Linked DNA regions of Homo sapiens: regions 2, 3 and 4 are each linked to region 1. Evidence: promoter capture Hi-C in human tissues and cell types (Jung and others, 2019). All regions are on one chromosome and are shown on one strand. The core of a region is centred on a gene start or on the middle of the fragment in contact, and the rest is flanking DNA. Distances in the headings are between cores, read along the strand shown. Region 1 holds the start of PRR22 (proline rich 22). Region 2 overlaps RANBP3 (RAN binding protein 3). Region 3 overlaps RANBP3 (RAN binding protein 3). Region 4 holds the start of CAPS (calcyphosine).

The links. Contacts are between HindIII fragments. The study calls those that stand out against the background at their distance.
Region 2: a contact is called between a fragment that was not itself captured here and the fragment with the promoter of PRR22 in region 1, in 1 of the 25 tissues and cell types used here (dorsolateral prefrontal cortex).
Region 3: a contact is called between a fragment that was not itself captured here and the fragment with the promoter of PRR22 in region 1, in 3 of the 25 tissues and cell types used here (dorsolateral prefrontal cortex, mesendoderm cells and stomach).
Region 4: a contact is called between the fragment with the promoter of CAPS here and the fragment with the promoter of PRR22 in region 1, in 8 of the 25 tissues and cell types used here (H1 embryonic stem cells, adrenal gland, bladder and 5 more).

Annotation. Positions count from the first base shown.
Region 1 is chr19:5,782,959-5,786,701 of GRCh38, reverse strand. PRR22 (proline rich 22) reads left to right here and starts at 1,956. Exons shown (of 3, transcript NM_001134316.2): 1 at 1,956-2,171; 2 at 2,263-2,325; 3 at 2,649-3,742. The coding sequence starts at 2,042. The coding sequence ends at 3,724. It overlaps DUS3L (dihydrouridine synthase 3 like), which reads left to right. Exons shown (of 13, transcript NM_020175.3): 10 at 160-235; 11 at 911-1,099; 12 at 1,191-1,319; 13 at 1,427-1,562. The coding sequence ends at 1,499. The HindIII fragment of the contact is 36,623 bases long and covers 1-3,743 here.
Region 2 is chr19:5,957,501-5,961,243 of GRCh38, reverse strand. It overlaps RANBP3 (RAN binding protein 3), which reads left to right. Exons shown (of 17, transcript NM_007322.3): 2 at 3,271-3,326. Among named protein-coding and RNA genes, the nearest start is that of RANBP3, 19 kb to the left of the region's middle. RefSeq lists enhancers at 1-498, 1,147-1,795, 2,445-3,093, 3,721-3,743. The HindIII fragment of the contact is 5,100 bases long and covers 1-3,743 here.
Region 3 is chr19:5,938,098-5,941,840 of GRCh38, reverse strand. RANBP3 (RAN binding protein 3) reads left to right here. Exons shown (of 17, transcript NM_007322.3): 4 at 6-42; 5 at 134-220. Among named protein-coding and RNA genes, the nearest start is that of CAPS, 26 kb to the right of the region's middle. RefSeq lists a silencer at 1,887-2,067. The HindIII fragment of the contact is 7,736 bases long and covers 1-3,743 here.
Region 4 is chr19:5,912,344-5,916,086 of GRCh38, reverse strand. It overlaps CAPS (calcyphosine), which reads right to left and starts at 1,833. Exons shown (of 5, transcript NM_004058.5): 1 at 1,778-1,833; 2 at 1,598-1,702; 3 at 1,347-1,524; 4 at 941-1,147; 5 at 1-866. The coding sequence starts at 1,680. The coding sequence ends at 765. The HindIII fragment of the contact is 10,666 bases long and covers 1-3,743 here.

The DNA.
Region 1 (3,743 bases), core at 707-3,206:
ACTCACACCTCTGGGCTGTTCGCCTTCCCACTTGGGACCCCCTCGTACCACCCTGATGGGAGCCACTGGGTCAGCCAAAACTCCTGAAGGGCTGGTGAGCAGAACTCCAGGGTCCCACCTGCCCATGTCTCCCTGAGACCCCAGCCTCTGTCTCCTCAGGAAATGGGGACATCTTGTCATTTGAGGATGCCAACCGCGCCATGCAGACTGGTGTCACCGGGATCATGATTGCCCGGTAAGTGCCCAGGGATGTTAGAGATCCAGCTTCATGCACAGCAGCAGTGCCCTGAACCCAACACGCCGTCACCCACCCCTGTTCTGTGGTGGGCTGTTGGTCCCAAGATGGGAGGAGCAGAGAGCGATGTCAGGAGTTGCAGCTGCGTTGCGGCAGAGGGGACTGGAAATTGCTGCTGCTGTGGGATCTGATGATTGTGGGTTGAAAGTCCTGGGCTTTGGCCAGGTGTGTGGCTCACGCCTGTAATCCCAGCACTTTGGGAGGCCAAGGCACGCCGATCATTTGAGGTCGGAGGTTCAAGACTAGCCTGACCAACATGGTGAAACATCTCTATTAAAAATACAAAAATTAGCCAGGTGTAGTGGTACACGCCTGTAATCCCAACTACTAGGGAGGCTGAGGCAGGACAATTGCCTGAACCTGGGAGACGGAGGTTGAACAGTGAGCCGAGATCTTACCACTGCACCCCAGCCTGGGCGACAGAGCCAGACTCCGTCTCAGAAAAAACAAAAGAAAGTCCTGTGCTTTGAAGGTTGTGTGCATGCAGCTGGGAGGCTTACTAGGCTTGTAGGTTTTGTGGTCTGGGCTCCGGCTCAGGCCAGGCCATGGAAGCAGAGGCCACACGATCCCAGGCAGGCTGGTGGCTGGGCCCACTGATCGTCACCCGTCCCACAGTGGCGCCCTGCTCAAGCCGTGGCTCTTCACGGAGATCAAGGAGCAGCGGCACTGGGACATCTCGTCGTCCGAGCGCCTGGACATCCTGCGGGACTTCACCAACTACGGCCTGGAGCACTGGGGCTCGGACACGCAGGGCGTGGAGAAGACCCGGCGCTTTCTGCTCGAGTGGCTGTCCTTCCTGTGCCGGTGGGCACCGGGGCTGGCTGGGGTGGGCGGCGCGTGGGCCGCGGCTGGTTAGAGCTGACTCAAGCCTGTCCTGCCCGCCCACCCGCCGCAGGTACGTGCCCGTGGGGCTGCTGGAGCGGCTCCCACAGAGGATCAACGAGCGGCCGCCCTACTACCTGGGCCGCGACTACCTGGAGACGCTGATGGCCAGCCAGAAGGCAGCCGACTGGATCCGCATCAGGTGCCTGGGTGGGCTGGAGTTGGGGAGCTGCAGTCGGGGGCCCGGGGTCACGGAGGGTACTTTGCAGGTCCTGGGCCTGACCTCGCTTTCCACCTGCTCTCCCACAGCGAGATGCTCCTTGGGCCAGTGCCCCCCAGCTTCGCCTTCTTGCCGAAGCACAAGGCCAACGCGTACAAGTAGCCTCAGGCTTTCCCAGGGGCACCCTGGGGCGAGGAGAGTACAATAAATTTTATTCTTTTAAAATCCAGGCCTTTCTGTGACCCTGAAGCAGCCCCTCCTCGGCCCCCACCTTCCCCAAACCTCTTAGCTGCCTCCATGGGCCCTGCCCCAAGCTGGGTGCTGCTGGTGCCCAGAGAGGCCTTGACCCCCAAGAAGGTAGCGGGTTGAGGACCCGGGGGGCCTCAGCCTGTGTGGGTGTGGATCAGGGCAGCCTGCCTGGAGGAGGCGGCCTCAAAGCTGTTAGGGGGGTGTTGCTGGAAGAGGCAAAGGCCTGGCCCAGAATCCTCCCTCCCATGGTGATGACCATGTCTGCCAACGTCTGCCCCTGCTTGCCCCCAACACCCAGAACCCCAACCAGTGGGCGCGCTGCAGGCTGGAACCCGCTGCCCCGAGTAACCAGGCAAACAGAACCCCACCAGGTTCTCAGCCTGTTCTCCGGTTGGGCCACTTGCACTCCCACTGCCGCCCTCCTGGCCTGTCTGGACCGGGCCCCCCGCTGCCCCATGCAGCACCCCAAACCGTTCTGTGCCCCTGCAGCTCCCCAGGAAGGTTTCAGCCCGCAGAGTCTGGAGGGGGCTGAGGTGCTGGGCAACCAGCCTGCTCCCACCTGTGCCGAGCCTCCTCCCGCTATGGGTACGATCGGGTGGGTGGGAGCACCTGCTGGAGAGGGTTCAGGGGCCCACCCGCCTAAGGGCCCTACCCACCTGGGCACCTTTGTCCACAGGCTCCTTGAACCTGTATCATCCCCCAGACCCAGAGAAAGAGGTGTTTCCAGCCCCACCAGCAGGTACCGGCCTCCCCTGAGCCCTTGACGAGGCTGGGAGTGGGTTTGAGTGTGCAGGCCCATCTTGCCCCTGCCCCGTCCCTAAGTGGGAGCCTGAAGGCATGGCCTCTGCTCCCCATGCTTCACACAGGTCCCCCAGATGAGCCCCAAAGACAAGCTCTGTGTCATCCATCACCCAGCCAGGGCCCCAAAGCAATATCTATGTCGTCCCCCAAAGGGGCCCCCCAATGGCAAGGTTCTTGTGGCATCTCCCAAACAGGCCCCCAGGCTTGGGCTGGGCCCCTCAGGCAGCAGCTGCTCTCAGGGCACCCGCCTGCCGCCCACAGGTTTCCAGATGGCCCCATGCGGGTGCTTCTTCGACCCCCGCATCTATCGGATCGAGTGGACCACCCCCGACCTGGGCCAGTCAGCCCTGTATAAGCTGGCAGCAAGCAGCGGGGGGCCAGCGGGGGTCCCCTCCGCCCCAGGCAGCTACCTCCTGGAGCCTCAGCCCTACCTCAAGGCCCCGGGGCTGCCTCCATACCCCCACTACCAGCAGGCACCCGGGGGGCCCCAGTTTCTCTTGCCCTACTTCCCGCCTGAGGGCCCCGGGCCAGAGGCTCTGGGTTTTGTGGGGGACGCAGGGCCCGCCGCCTTCGTGGAGCTGCCCCTACCGCCCCTAGAGGAAGGCCCGGCCCCGCTGCCACCCCCACCCCCCAAGGAGAACAAGCCGCCCCCTGTACTCATCACGCTGCCTGCAGAGCCCACACTGCCCCCAGACGCCTACAGCCACCTCCAGGGTCACCTCGGCCACTTCCCTGGGCCCGAACCCCTGGCCTTCCCCGTCAAGGAGCTGCAGGGCAGTGGGGCCCGACCTGGGGTGCCCCTGTACCCACCGGGCCTCAGCGAGCTCAAGGTGGCCGAGGTCAAGGAGGGGGCCCTGCTGGGAGCAGGCAAGGCCAAGGCCCCCAAGACGGCCAGAGCTTTGGCACTGCCTGACAAGGTTCTGCTGGAGGACGCCATGAAGCTCTTCGACTGCCTGCCAGGCGCCTCTGAGCCTGAGGGTACCCTGTGCGAGGTCCCTGGGCCGGCCCTGCCTGACAGCAGTGGTGGGAACTCAGCCGATGACATCCGCTCGCTGTGCCTGCCCGAGGAGCTGCTGTCCTTTGACTACAGCGTGCCTGAGATCCTGGACACCGTGTCCAACGTTGACTACTTCTTCAACTTCAAGGCGCTCGACGAGGAGCAGCCGCCCCACCCGGGGCCCCCTGCCACCAACACCCCGGCCCCCATTCTGTCTGGCAAGAGAAAGGCCTCGACGGCCAAGAAGGGAAAGCCGGGAAGGAAGGCCAGGCAGCCGGCAGGCCCAGCCAGCGCCACTCCCCCGGGGCCCAGGGAGGACCTGGGAGCCACCCCGCATTAAAGCACATTTGACCTTTCAG
Region 2 (3,743 bases), core at 326-2,825, 170 kb before region 1:
TCTCAATCTCCTGACCTCGTGATCCCCCCACCTCGGCCTCCCAAAGTGCTGGGATTACAGGTGTGAGCCACCGCGCCCGGCCAACACTGCAGTTTTAAGTGTGTGTTTCATGATAGTGCTTCTGGCTGCTCTGTGGAGGCCAGATCTAAGGGAGTGAGAGTAGAGGCAGAGAAGGAAAGGAGGGCTGAATGGTGGCAGGGGTGGGTACAGGAACAAGAGATGGGAGGCAATTGTGGAGGATCTGATTGGACTCCACCCTGGCTTTCTGTTCTCTGGGTGGCTCCTTTCAGAGCTTGACCCTCACGTCCCCTTCCATAGCCTCCCTCTGTCTCCAGCTGGGTCACATGTCCAGGCACAGGACAGGGTTGCTCCATCAGAGGGGCCCTCTCCTGGCCCATGCCCCTCAGCCCTGCCGTGTGTCCAGAAGGCTCCGGGCAGCACCTTGGCACCACAGCCTGCCCAGGCCTCCCATAGTTACTCAAATAGCTGCAGTCCCTTCCGTGCACCTGCAGATCCACCGACACGGTTCTCAACACCAGCGCGCACTCCTCTCCCATCCAAATGGTTCTCTCTCTTCTAGCCCTTCCTTACTAGCCTGGCACCAAGTGTCTTCGCCTCACATTTTCACTAATGTCCTCCTTCCCTCCCCCTTCATGAAGTGTTTGTTGAATCCATAAAGTGTGCCAAGTACTGTTCTCAGGCCATGGGGTACCCAGGGGAACAAAGCAGTCTCGGATCTTATGGAGTTTATATCTTAATGGGTGAGACAGACCATAAACCCATCAATATGGAGTGGATCAGGCAGTGACACTTGCTGTGAAGAGAAAGAAAGCATCTTAGCGTCACTTTGAGGCCTGTCCAAGGTCTCTTCCACAGATGCTGGAGTGCAGCATGTGTGTAATTCAGTCTGCAGTGGCTGGACCGCGCCTCTCTCAGGCCAGAGTCTGTTAGCGACAAGGGGCAGAAATCGAGCTCAAACTGGCTTAAGCAAAAATCAGCACTGATTGGCTTCACTGAAAAGTCTGGGGGCAGAGTTAGCTTTGGGCCAAGCTTGACTCAGGGCCGAACACAGGCCAGATTTAGTCTTCCCCCTCCCTCTGTGACTCTGCTACCTCTGGTTGGCTCTGGTCCAAGGCCCCTCTCGGTGACATGGGATTGCTGGCAGCCTCAGGGTCATTCACCAGCAGCTCAGCAGCCCCAGGATCTCCAGCGAAAGGCCTGGCCTTGTTCATGTGCCATGTGTTAGACGATGCATGCGGGACTCTTCTTGTCAGGCCTGGAGCTGGGGCTGAGCTTGGCTCCATCTGAACTGGGGGACAGGGGGACGAGGGGTGGGTAGCTCCCTAAAGAAAATGGGGTTGGAGAGTGCCAAGCTGGCTCAAACCCTGGCTCCTTCCTGTGCATCTTGTCACCTGGCAGCTGGCAGGGAGGCAAATGCAGAGGTCAGGGCTGGGCTTGTGGGGTACAGGCGTGGCACCGGAAGACCTCTAGGATCCTGGTGGCACACATGGTGTGGATACGCTGCTGCTCTGTCCCAGAGTCCCCCAGCATTCCTTTGACATCATTTATTGCCTGGCATAGGTGCATTCATTCACGTTTGTCAAGCAGCACCTGTGTGCTGTGTTGGCAAGAAGTCTGCTTAGGGAAACCTGGAAGTCTGGTTGGAGACCCCTCTGACCTCCCCTGCTCCCTTGTAGCCCCTGGGTCTCGCGCACGCCACTCACTCCAGTGTTTGCCTTGGCTGTACACGGTGAATCAGACCCTGGTGTGCCGAGGCTTCGGGGAGCATGGTGGGGGGAATGTCACCATCAGTGGGCTGCCTGGCTGTGGACTGATGCCCCAAGGTCAAGACCAGAGTCTGTCCTGCGTCTGCAGGAGTGGGATGGTGTCTGTTTGGTCATCTTGGTGCTGTCCCTTTCTCTCCACCTCAGTCACTACCCACCTGGTCTCCCCACAGCCACTCTCACTCCCTTCCCCAAACTGTTTGCTTTCAACCTAAACCAACCCCAGGCATCCCCTTGCCTTTTATGACATTTCCCCAGCAAGTCAGCATGCCCACCGCCTGCCCCTGGCCCCATCACCCCGCAAGCTGTGACTTCAAGCTGCTGCTGCTCTCCCTTCCAGCTCTTCTTGAGACCCCAGCACAGCCCCCTCTTCTCAGGGACCTCCCCTGGACTCCAGAGCAGACCAGGTCAATGCCCAAGCAGAGTGCCTTCGTCGTGATCATGGGCAGCACATGCTTCCTGGGTAATGCCTGGCTCCCCACGACCGGGGTCGGGGGGCCTGCGAAGGCAGGGCTCTTCCCAAACCCTGCTCAACGCGGAGGCACCAGTGCGCAGCCCGCAGCCCACAGCAGGCATTCACCAGAGTCACAGCTGCTCTTGCTTGGCCTCCACGCTAGGCCCTCAGTGCCCTGAATGGTGAAAGAGGCCCTGGGAGCACCCCCAGAGTTCATCAAAGTGCATGCAGGCCCAAGGCCATGAGGCAGGTGTGGTCTGCGCCTCCTCGTGGGGTCGAGGCAGTCCTCATCTGTGCTTCCTGTGCGGGCAGCAGGGCCTCCTGGGCTGCCACCCACTCCGGGGCTGAGTGGCACAGGGCTGTGGATCTGGCTGCCCCTGGGTAGGAGACAGATGGTGTTGCGTGGGCATTACAGGCCGCCTTGCTCTTGTCCCATCAAGTGACAGAACACCCCAGAGTGTTTCTTCCTTCAGCCGCTGTGCAAGATGGACTCTCAGGCCTCTAGCAACTCCAGACATCCTTTCCTCCCAACCAGCACTCACTTAGAGATCCAGGTTGAGCGTTAGGATTCTTCTACCAGAACTGTCTGCAAACAGCGCGAGCGGTGGCCCTTTTTTTTGCCCTCTGGCCTGTAAACTTTAAAAAGCTAAATTAGTCTCTAACATTTGCAATTCAGGAGGTGCCACATTCCTGCAAGGTCACAGTTCATGGCGCCAAATAGCGCTGCCACACTCTCCGCTGCTCTCCCACTCCCATTTACACGCCCGCTCTCAGTGAGTCTTGAAAACTCCTTATTGATGATAAATGCATACAGCAGAGGGCACACGTCACATCATTCTGGGTGCATTTCACAAACCCAGCACACCTGTGCCTCCAGGCATCCGAGTCAAGACGCTGTTCTAAGTGATTTGATGTTCTCTGGAGTTACTAGTTTCATTTATATATATGTTTAACATATTACAAACAAGTGTAGCTTTGTTTACTGTATGCATATAGTGTTGGGGGGAAAAAAACTAATTTTTCTTTTTGCAGAAAAGCCTGCCATTGCTCCGCCCGTCTTTGTGTTTCAGAAGGATAAAGGACAAAAGGTAAGGGGCCGGTACGTTCTCTCTTCACTTCGTTACTCTAATTTGTTCTCTCTTTACTGAGAGTCTCTTTTCCAGGTCGCATTGCCAAGGCCACTTCTGCCCACAGACGGGGAGACCTAAGCAGAGGCCTTTACACTTTCACGTTGAGCTTGGAGGGAAAAGGCTTGGTGGCTTTAGGTTACCGTGGAGAGAGGTTAGGATGGGTCTGTTGTGGAAAGGGCTCAGAGAGTACAGTTTGTTGAAACGGTATTAGAAAGCTTCTTCCTAATTCCTGATGATTTGTTTGAGAAATGCCACTGTACCTTAGGAAAACCAACAGCAGAGGGACAGTAGGGGGCAAAGGGAGGAGGGAAGGTGGGGAGGGAGTCAGGGAGGGAGGGAGGGAGGGGAAGGAGGAGAGCAATGGTGGTTACAGGG
Region 3 (3,743 bases), core at 733-3,232, 160 kb before region 1:
TTCAGAGGTCAGCTGGCGGCTCCAGTCCTGAAGGCGGAGAAGGTAAGGAGCTCTCTAACACCTTTGACCATCTTCAGTTTTAAAGACAGAAGCAACCTGATTTTTCTCCTCCTCTTCTCATCATTTTCTGTAGATTCTGACAGAGAAGATGGAAATTACTGCCCTCCTGTCAAGCGAGAAAGAACATCCTCTTTAACCCAGTTCCCACCCTCACAGTCAGGTAAAATATGCAAACTTACGGAATGGTGAAAGCGTTTATGCTTACAAACCCGCCATTCCCCTCAGTGCCGCGCATCCGTCTGCTGTGTCCTTCCTGCCCAGCTCCGGTTAGAGTCGATCTGAGGCTCGGGCTCTGTCAGGAGTGAGGTGAGAGCTTGTCCAGAGTGCAGCATCAGGGGTCCTCGTCTCGAATCAGTGACACTGACGGCATGGTGAGACTTGGTGGCCTGAGGAAGACTGTGAAGAGATCGTCCCTCTGAAATGGAGGAAAGGGGTTGACTACTGAGAGCCCTGTTGGGGCCTCTGCCTGTTAATTACATCTCCTCTTTCCAAGGCTGGACACAGACTGGGGGTTTAGGGGTGGGGTGTTCTCCCAACCCCTCAGCTGCATGCCCAGCACGGGCAGTCCAGTGCAGTAGCCCAGACACACACACGCATGTACACACAAGCATGCACACACACACGGTAACCAGCAAGCCAGGAGGCCCCAGCAGAGGCCCGTGTGTGATGCTGTGAACTCCCAGAGGAGAGGAGCTTGCGGGGGCCTGGAAGGGTGGGCCAGGCTCGGACTGTGGAGCAGGGCAGGCTAAAGGGCTTGAAGGCCCTGGACGTGAGGCCTGGTCTGAGCACAGGCCTGGAGGTCGGCCTGGGGACTCATGCAGGCTGGTACAGGAGAGAGGTTCCTGAGGCAGATAATGCCGTCAGCACTACTTAATATAACACTCAGAAAGCCCGGCCTCCTGCCATGGGCACAACTCTGCAGATTTGAGGGTAAATGCCACTGCAGGGCTATTCTCTCGTCCCCGTCTTGACTTCCCACTCTGGCATTGTCTCGTGGCCTCTGTCTTAGCTGTCTGTAGTGCCAACTTGGACATACATGAGTGTTTAGACAGGTTCTCTGGTTACCCAACTGAAATCCATTCCTGGAAAGTTCATGTAAATCATTTTACAGTCCTGAACCTTCAGGATGTCAAGTTGTTTCTGCTTACAGAAGTCACGCATGCGTTACAGGAACACACAGCGTAGGAAGCCAGGGTCCTTCCCAAGTCACCCCTCCACACCCTTGTTTTCATGCCCTTTTCCCATCACGTTGGTTTTGGACATGGCCGCGTCTTTTTGCACAGCTGCATTAGGTTTTCCAGTGCTATTACACTGTCATCTGCTGACTGGATATTGCGGAACTGTCCAGATGGCTTGCAGTCCAGGCTGCAGTTGGCATCCTTTTAATTTAAGGATCTTTGCACCTGTGGATAGGTGTTCTGTGGAATGAGGGAGCTCCACTTCCTGCTCGTTGATTTTATTCCTTCCCCCTCACTGCCCACTGCTGAACCATGCTTGCTGTATCGAAAACCAGCATAGAGAAGAGGAGGTGTTTGGGCTGTGAATGTAGGCTAAAGAGGCGAGGGACCACCATTCTTCTCCCCGGCCCTCTTCAAATCACCTCCCGTCCAGCGCAGCAGCCCCCAAGAGACACTCAGCTCTCCAGGGTAACTGGAGGCGTGAGGGGCACCAATAATTTGAACAGTGTTGTCTTTGGTTCCATTCTGCGTAGAGTGAGTTCTTCCCCTACGAATTCCACTTCATTTGTGGAAACCTGTTGGCTGGCCCACACCCTGGGAAGCAGTTGCCCTGGTGAAGGAAGATCTTAGGTGGGGGAGGGGGAACCCCATGGACAAGCCTTGACAGGTGAGGAGGAGTCAGGGCCTCCAATGTGGCCTGGAGCATCTGATATCTCCCCTGCCGGCTGCCCCTGCAGAGGTGCAGGGACAAGGGGGTGCCCCCAGTTGACCAGAGTTGACTGTAGTCATCAGACAGATCAAGGCCGTCGGGCTGGAGACCCTCGTAGTGCTGTAAAGAGTCTTGGGGTTTGCTGTTCTCGGGAAAGACTGAATGCCCTGTTTGCGTGCTGTTCCGTCTCCTCCCGTGGGACGTGAGAATCCACCCCTCAGGTGGGAGAGGTGATCTCTGAGCGTCCACCCCACCCATTCATGCTGTTTTTCCTCTTGTTCCCTCCCCCGCCTGCACCTCCTTGTCAACAGTTTCAAAAAACAATGTTTTTATGCCATCAAGCTTCTGCGAGCCATCTGCAGGCAATTCCGACTCAGAGCCAAGTGAGCCCCGGCCCCTCTGCCTTCCCGCCCGGCCTGGGGGTTCTCCTGGGAGGAAAAGCAATTGGTGTGGGAAAATCAGATCTTCAGCGGGCATTTAAAGTCAGTTCTTCTTCAGCTGTTAAAATTTTTCCCCCAACTCTTCAGCTCATAGTCTGGGGATCTGGCGTGAGATGAGGCTTCATAAGCCCTCATGTTTGTTTCTGCAAGCAGGGCCTGGTTGCATGGAGCTCTAAGTCCTCTAAAAACAACCTGTGAAGAAATGTATCACTCATTTTTCAAAATTTTATACAAGTAATGCATTCATAATTGGGGTTTTTTGGTTTTTTAGACAGACTTTCACTCTTTTTGCCCAGGCTGGAGTGCAGTGGTGTGATCTCAACTCACTGCAACCTCCGCCTCCCGGGTTCAAGTGATTCTGCTGCCTCAGCTTCCCGAGTAGCTGGGATTACAGGCGCACACCACAATGCCGGGGTAATTTTGTATTTTTTTAGTAGAGACAGGGTTTCACCTGTTGGCCAGGCTGGTCTCCAACTCCTGACCTCAGGTGATGCACCTGTCTCGGCCTCCCAAAGTACTGGAATTACAGGCATGAGCCACCGCACCTGGCCCATAATTGTTTTTTCTTTAAAGTAAATCAGAAATATTTCAACTAAAAAGAATCCCTGCCCCTTCCCCACTCACCCTGCCATCCCAAAGGTAACGCCTGTGAAGTTGGTGAATTTCTAGACCTCTTTTTTGTGCATTCTCACATTAATTTTGCTCAGACCTACCTAGATAAATATGTTTAATCACAGCTTCAAAACTTTTTGTGTGTTTTGGAGACGGAGTTTCACTCTTGTCCCCCAGGCTGGAGTGCAATGGGGCGATCTTGGCTCACTGCAACCTCTGCCTCCTGGGTTCAAGCAATTCTCCTGCCTCAGCCTCCCAAGTAGCTGGGATTACAGGCATGTGCCACCATGCCCAGCTAATGTTTTGTATTTTTAGTAGAGACGAGGGTTTCACCGTGTTGGCCAGGCTGGTCTCGAACTCCTGACCTCAAGCGAGCTTCCCGCCTCAGCCTCCCAAAGTGCTAGGATTACAGGCGTGAGCCACCACGTCTGGCCCCCAGCTTTAAAATTTTAAGGAAAGCCGCTCCCCCTTTCTGAAGAATATGGAGCCTGCCTTTTTGGTCTTTCACTGGAGAACCAACTCCAAGGTTTCCTGAAAGTTTCTCCCACGTGGCTGAAATTCCTCATAAAAGATTTAACAAGCGAGTTTAACAACCTGAATTCTGTAACCCAACCTACCATATATAAATTCATTGCCGACTTCAAAAGCATTGTGAGATAAGTTAGCTGCTGGCGTGATGTCCGTGTCAAGGGAAGAGGTGGGTTCTTATAACTCTCAGCATTGAGTTGATGGCCCCGTTTCAAC
Region 4 (3,743 bases), core at 584-3,083, 130 kb before region 1:
CCTCCACCTCCCCGGGCGAGGACCTCCAGCAGCCTGGGGCCTCATGCTCCCACCCAGCGTGTCACCAGTGCTGGGGTCCAGCCACAGCCCTGTTCTCTCCACCACCACCCGCACTTTACCCCCACCCCTGCTGCAAGGCCCCGCCGGTCTGCCCCCGCCCAGAGCTCCCAGCCTCGGGCCGCTCACCAGAATGTAGATACTGGGCCCGCTGGACATGTTACCTGCTATTTTTATTCCCCATTTGCCATCTTCTGATTGGGGGTTGATGTTTTACAGATTTTTTTTTCAAAGGCTTTATTTCAGTTTCTGAGGTTAGGATGCCCCTGTGCCCCTCGCTCCACACCTGGGCAGGTCTAAACTTCCTTCCAGGATGGCCTCCACACACAGCCTCCCACCTGGGGTCACCTGGCTTCCTGGGGGACCCGCAAGGGAGGGGCAGGGAGCAGCAGTCCGGGTGCGGGGATCGGGGGACCTCGGCGGGGGCATCCACAGGGGCTGCAAGATCTCTGGTCAGCATGGCGTGGGTGGGGAGAGCGTTTCTCCCTGGGGTCCTGAGCCAGTGACTCCTGTTAGGACCTTTGTCCCACCTCCGCCTGGTGGACCGGCAGGGACCTGGTCTAGCCAGTCCTGCAGCCTCCATTCCCCCACCTGCCCCTCCCCGCTCTGTGGTGTGGCTGCCCAGGAGAGAAGGGGCCCAGGGAAGGGAGGTCTCCGGCAGGGGTGGGGAGTGACAGGCCAGGGCAGCAGGGCTGAGCCGGAGCTGCTCACAGCTGCCAGGCACTGGTCATCATGGCCACGAACTCCTCATCCGTGTTCATGGAGGCACTCACGCCGCTGTAGTAGTCCTGGAATTCCGCCAGTGTGACCTGGGAACAGAGGGCCGTGAGGGGGCACGGCCGAGGAACTGCCTGGGGAGGGGGCCCCCCGCGCAGCCACCCACCTGCCCGTCCTTCTCAGAGGAGTCGAAGTTGTCCAGGAAGCGGCGCAGCACCTCGTCCTCGGTCCACTCCCCACTGCGCACCTTGGGGTGGGCACGGCCACTGTACACCCCGCGGAGGTCGTCCACCGTCACGACGCCGTCCCCACTGCGGTCCAGCTTGGCAAATGCAGCTGCGATGACAGCCTCCCGGGCCTGGGACATGGGGGGCTGGGACAGGAGGTGGTGACTGGGGGTGGTGGGTAGCACACCCAAACCCCCAAGACGCTGTGCAGAGCACTGGGGCTGTATGCCCCAGCAGGCGCCTCTTAACAGCAGCTCTTAGGGAGGAGTCCCCGTCTCCGCATCTCAGCATCCTCTGTCGCCCCATGCCCAGGGCACACGCCTTGACTGTGAGGTGGGGGCTCACCCGCAGCGCCCGAAGGAACTCCTCCAGATCCAGCGTCCCGCTGCCATTGCGGTCCCACTTCCTGCACACACCCTCTGCCTCCGCCTGGTCCAGCACCAGCCCGAGTTTGGCCAGACCCTGCCGGAACTCATCAGCGTCCAGGGATCTGCTCCCGTCCCGGTCTAGTTGGCGGAAAAACCTGGAGGCAGGGGACACGGTTGGAACAGTGGTCTCAGGGGCCGGGGTCAGGAAGGTGAGAGGGGACAGCTCACCTGGCCAGGCCCTGGATGCCCGAGGCCCCGCGGGACAGGCACTGTGCCCGGAGTTTCTCCATGGTGGCATCCACGGCGTCCATGCTTGGTCTGGGCTCTGGGCAGCTGGAAGGGAGAGAGGTCAAGGTGGGGACTCCCGCAAGCCCACCCTGGCCGACTGCCCCTTGTTCAGATGCTCACCTGGCCTGCGTCTGTCCCAGAGTCCTGCCTGCGGGGCCTTGTGTTAGCTGTGTTGTGCCTGGGGAGACTGTTGCTAGTGGAAGGTGCCTCTGGAGATGGGGTGGGGCCCAGCTGCATGAATGCACTGTGCTGGGCAGTGGGGAGTGGGGGAGGGATGGGTGCGCCCAGCCTGACTGCTTACTCAACTGCCAGCCCCACAGGGCCTGGGACAGAGCCAGATCCCTGTGGCACTGCATCCCTTCCTGGCTCCAAGGAGGAGGGGCAGGCCACTGCCCTGCAGGGGCTGAAATGCCCTGGATGGAGACAAGTCCGTGGCTGGGGAGGCTTGACGCATGATTCCTGTGTGACCCTGGACAGGTCCCTTTCCCTCTCTGGCTTCACAGGGGCTTCTCAGCCCGAGCCAGGGCTGACAAAATTGCTGAGGAATCAAAGTTCAAAAGGGCCCCAGGTTCTGACCGGCCACTGCGGCTCATGCCTGAAATCCCAGCACTTTGGGAGGTCTAGGTGGGAGGATCACTTGAGCCCAGGAGTTTGGACCAGCCTGGGGAACATATAGAGAACTTGTTTCTATTGTACAGCAACAAAAATGCCCCAGGTGGGCTGGGCGCGGTGGCTCATGCCTGTAATCCCAGCACTTTGGGAGGCCGAGGTGGGCAGATCACAAGGTGAGGAGTTTGAGACCAGCCTGACCAACATGGTGAAACCCCGCCTCTACTAAAAATACAAAAATTAGCCGTGCATGATGGTGGGCGCCTGTAATCCGAGCTACTTAGGAAGCTGAGGCAGGAGAATCGCTTGAACCCAGGAGGTGGAGCTTGCAGTGAGCCAAGATTGCACCACTGCACTCCAGTCTGGGCGACAGAGCAAGACTCCATCTCAAAAAGAAAAAAAAAAAAAAAGCCCCAGGTGGCCCAGGTCCTGGGGCCCTAAGACCTCCCACCCAGGCCCACCTCCAAGGGCAGGTCCTGCAACCCACAGAGACTGAGCTGAGCCTGAGGGACACCTCTGCTCACTGCCACAAAGCTTGTCACTGGCCGTTGTTAGGAGCCAGTCCCAGGATTTCTGTCTTTACGGATCTTTTGTTGTTGGTTTTCAGGCCTGAAACGTGACTTAGTGGGCTGGCTCCTGACAAGGTGGTGAGCCAGAGGTTGTGACCCCGAGTGGAAGAGCAGCCCTGATCCTGGACATAAACCTCAAGAGACGAAGCCACCTCACTGAAGGCCTTCAACGGAGACATCGGATATACCTGCCCGCTAAGATAGGTGGGTTTTCCAGGACTTGAAACGTGGGCCCTGTTTGAGGACCCACTGTTCGCCCCGACCCAAGGATCATCAATCGGAGCCTTCTCCAAGCCTGGCTTTACCTCGCTCACAGCACAATTATATTGTCAGAAGTTGCCTTGCCTGAGCGCGGTGGCTCATGCCTGTAATCCCAACACTTTGGGAAGCCAGGGCAGGAAGATCACTTGAGCCCAGGAGTTTGAGACCCGCCTGTGCAACATAGTGAGACCCCCCCATCTCTACAAAAACTACAAAAAATTAGCCAGGCATGGTGGTGTGTTCCTGTAATCCCACCTACTTGGAAGGCTGAGGCAGGAGGATCACTTGAGCCCGGGAGTTGGAGGCTGCAGTGAGCTATGATCGCACCACTGCACTCCAGCCTGGGTTACAGAGCAAGACGCCCGCCTCTTAAAAATAAGTAAATAAACTGGCCGGGCACGGTGGCTCACGCCTGTAATCCCAGCACTTTGGGAGGCCGAGGCGGGCAGATCATGAGGTCAGCAGTTCGAGACCAGCCTGGCCAACATGGTGAAACCCTGTCTCTACTATAAATACAAAAATTAGTCAGCCGGGTGCGGTGGCTCATGCCTGTAATCACAGCACTTTGGGAGGCCGAGGCAGACAGATCACCTGAGGTCAGGAGTTTGAGACCAGCCTGGCCAACATGGTGAAACCCTGTCTCTACT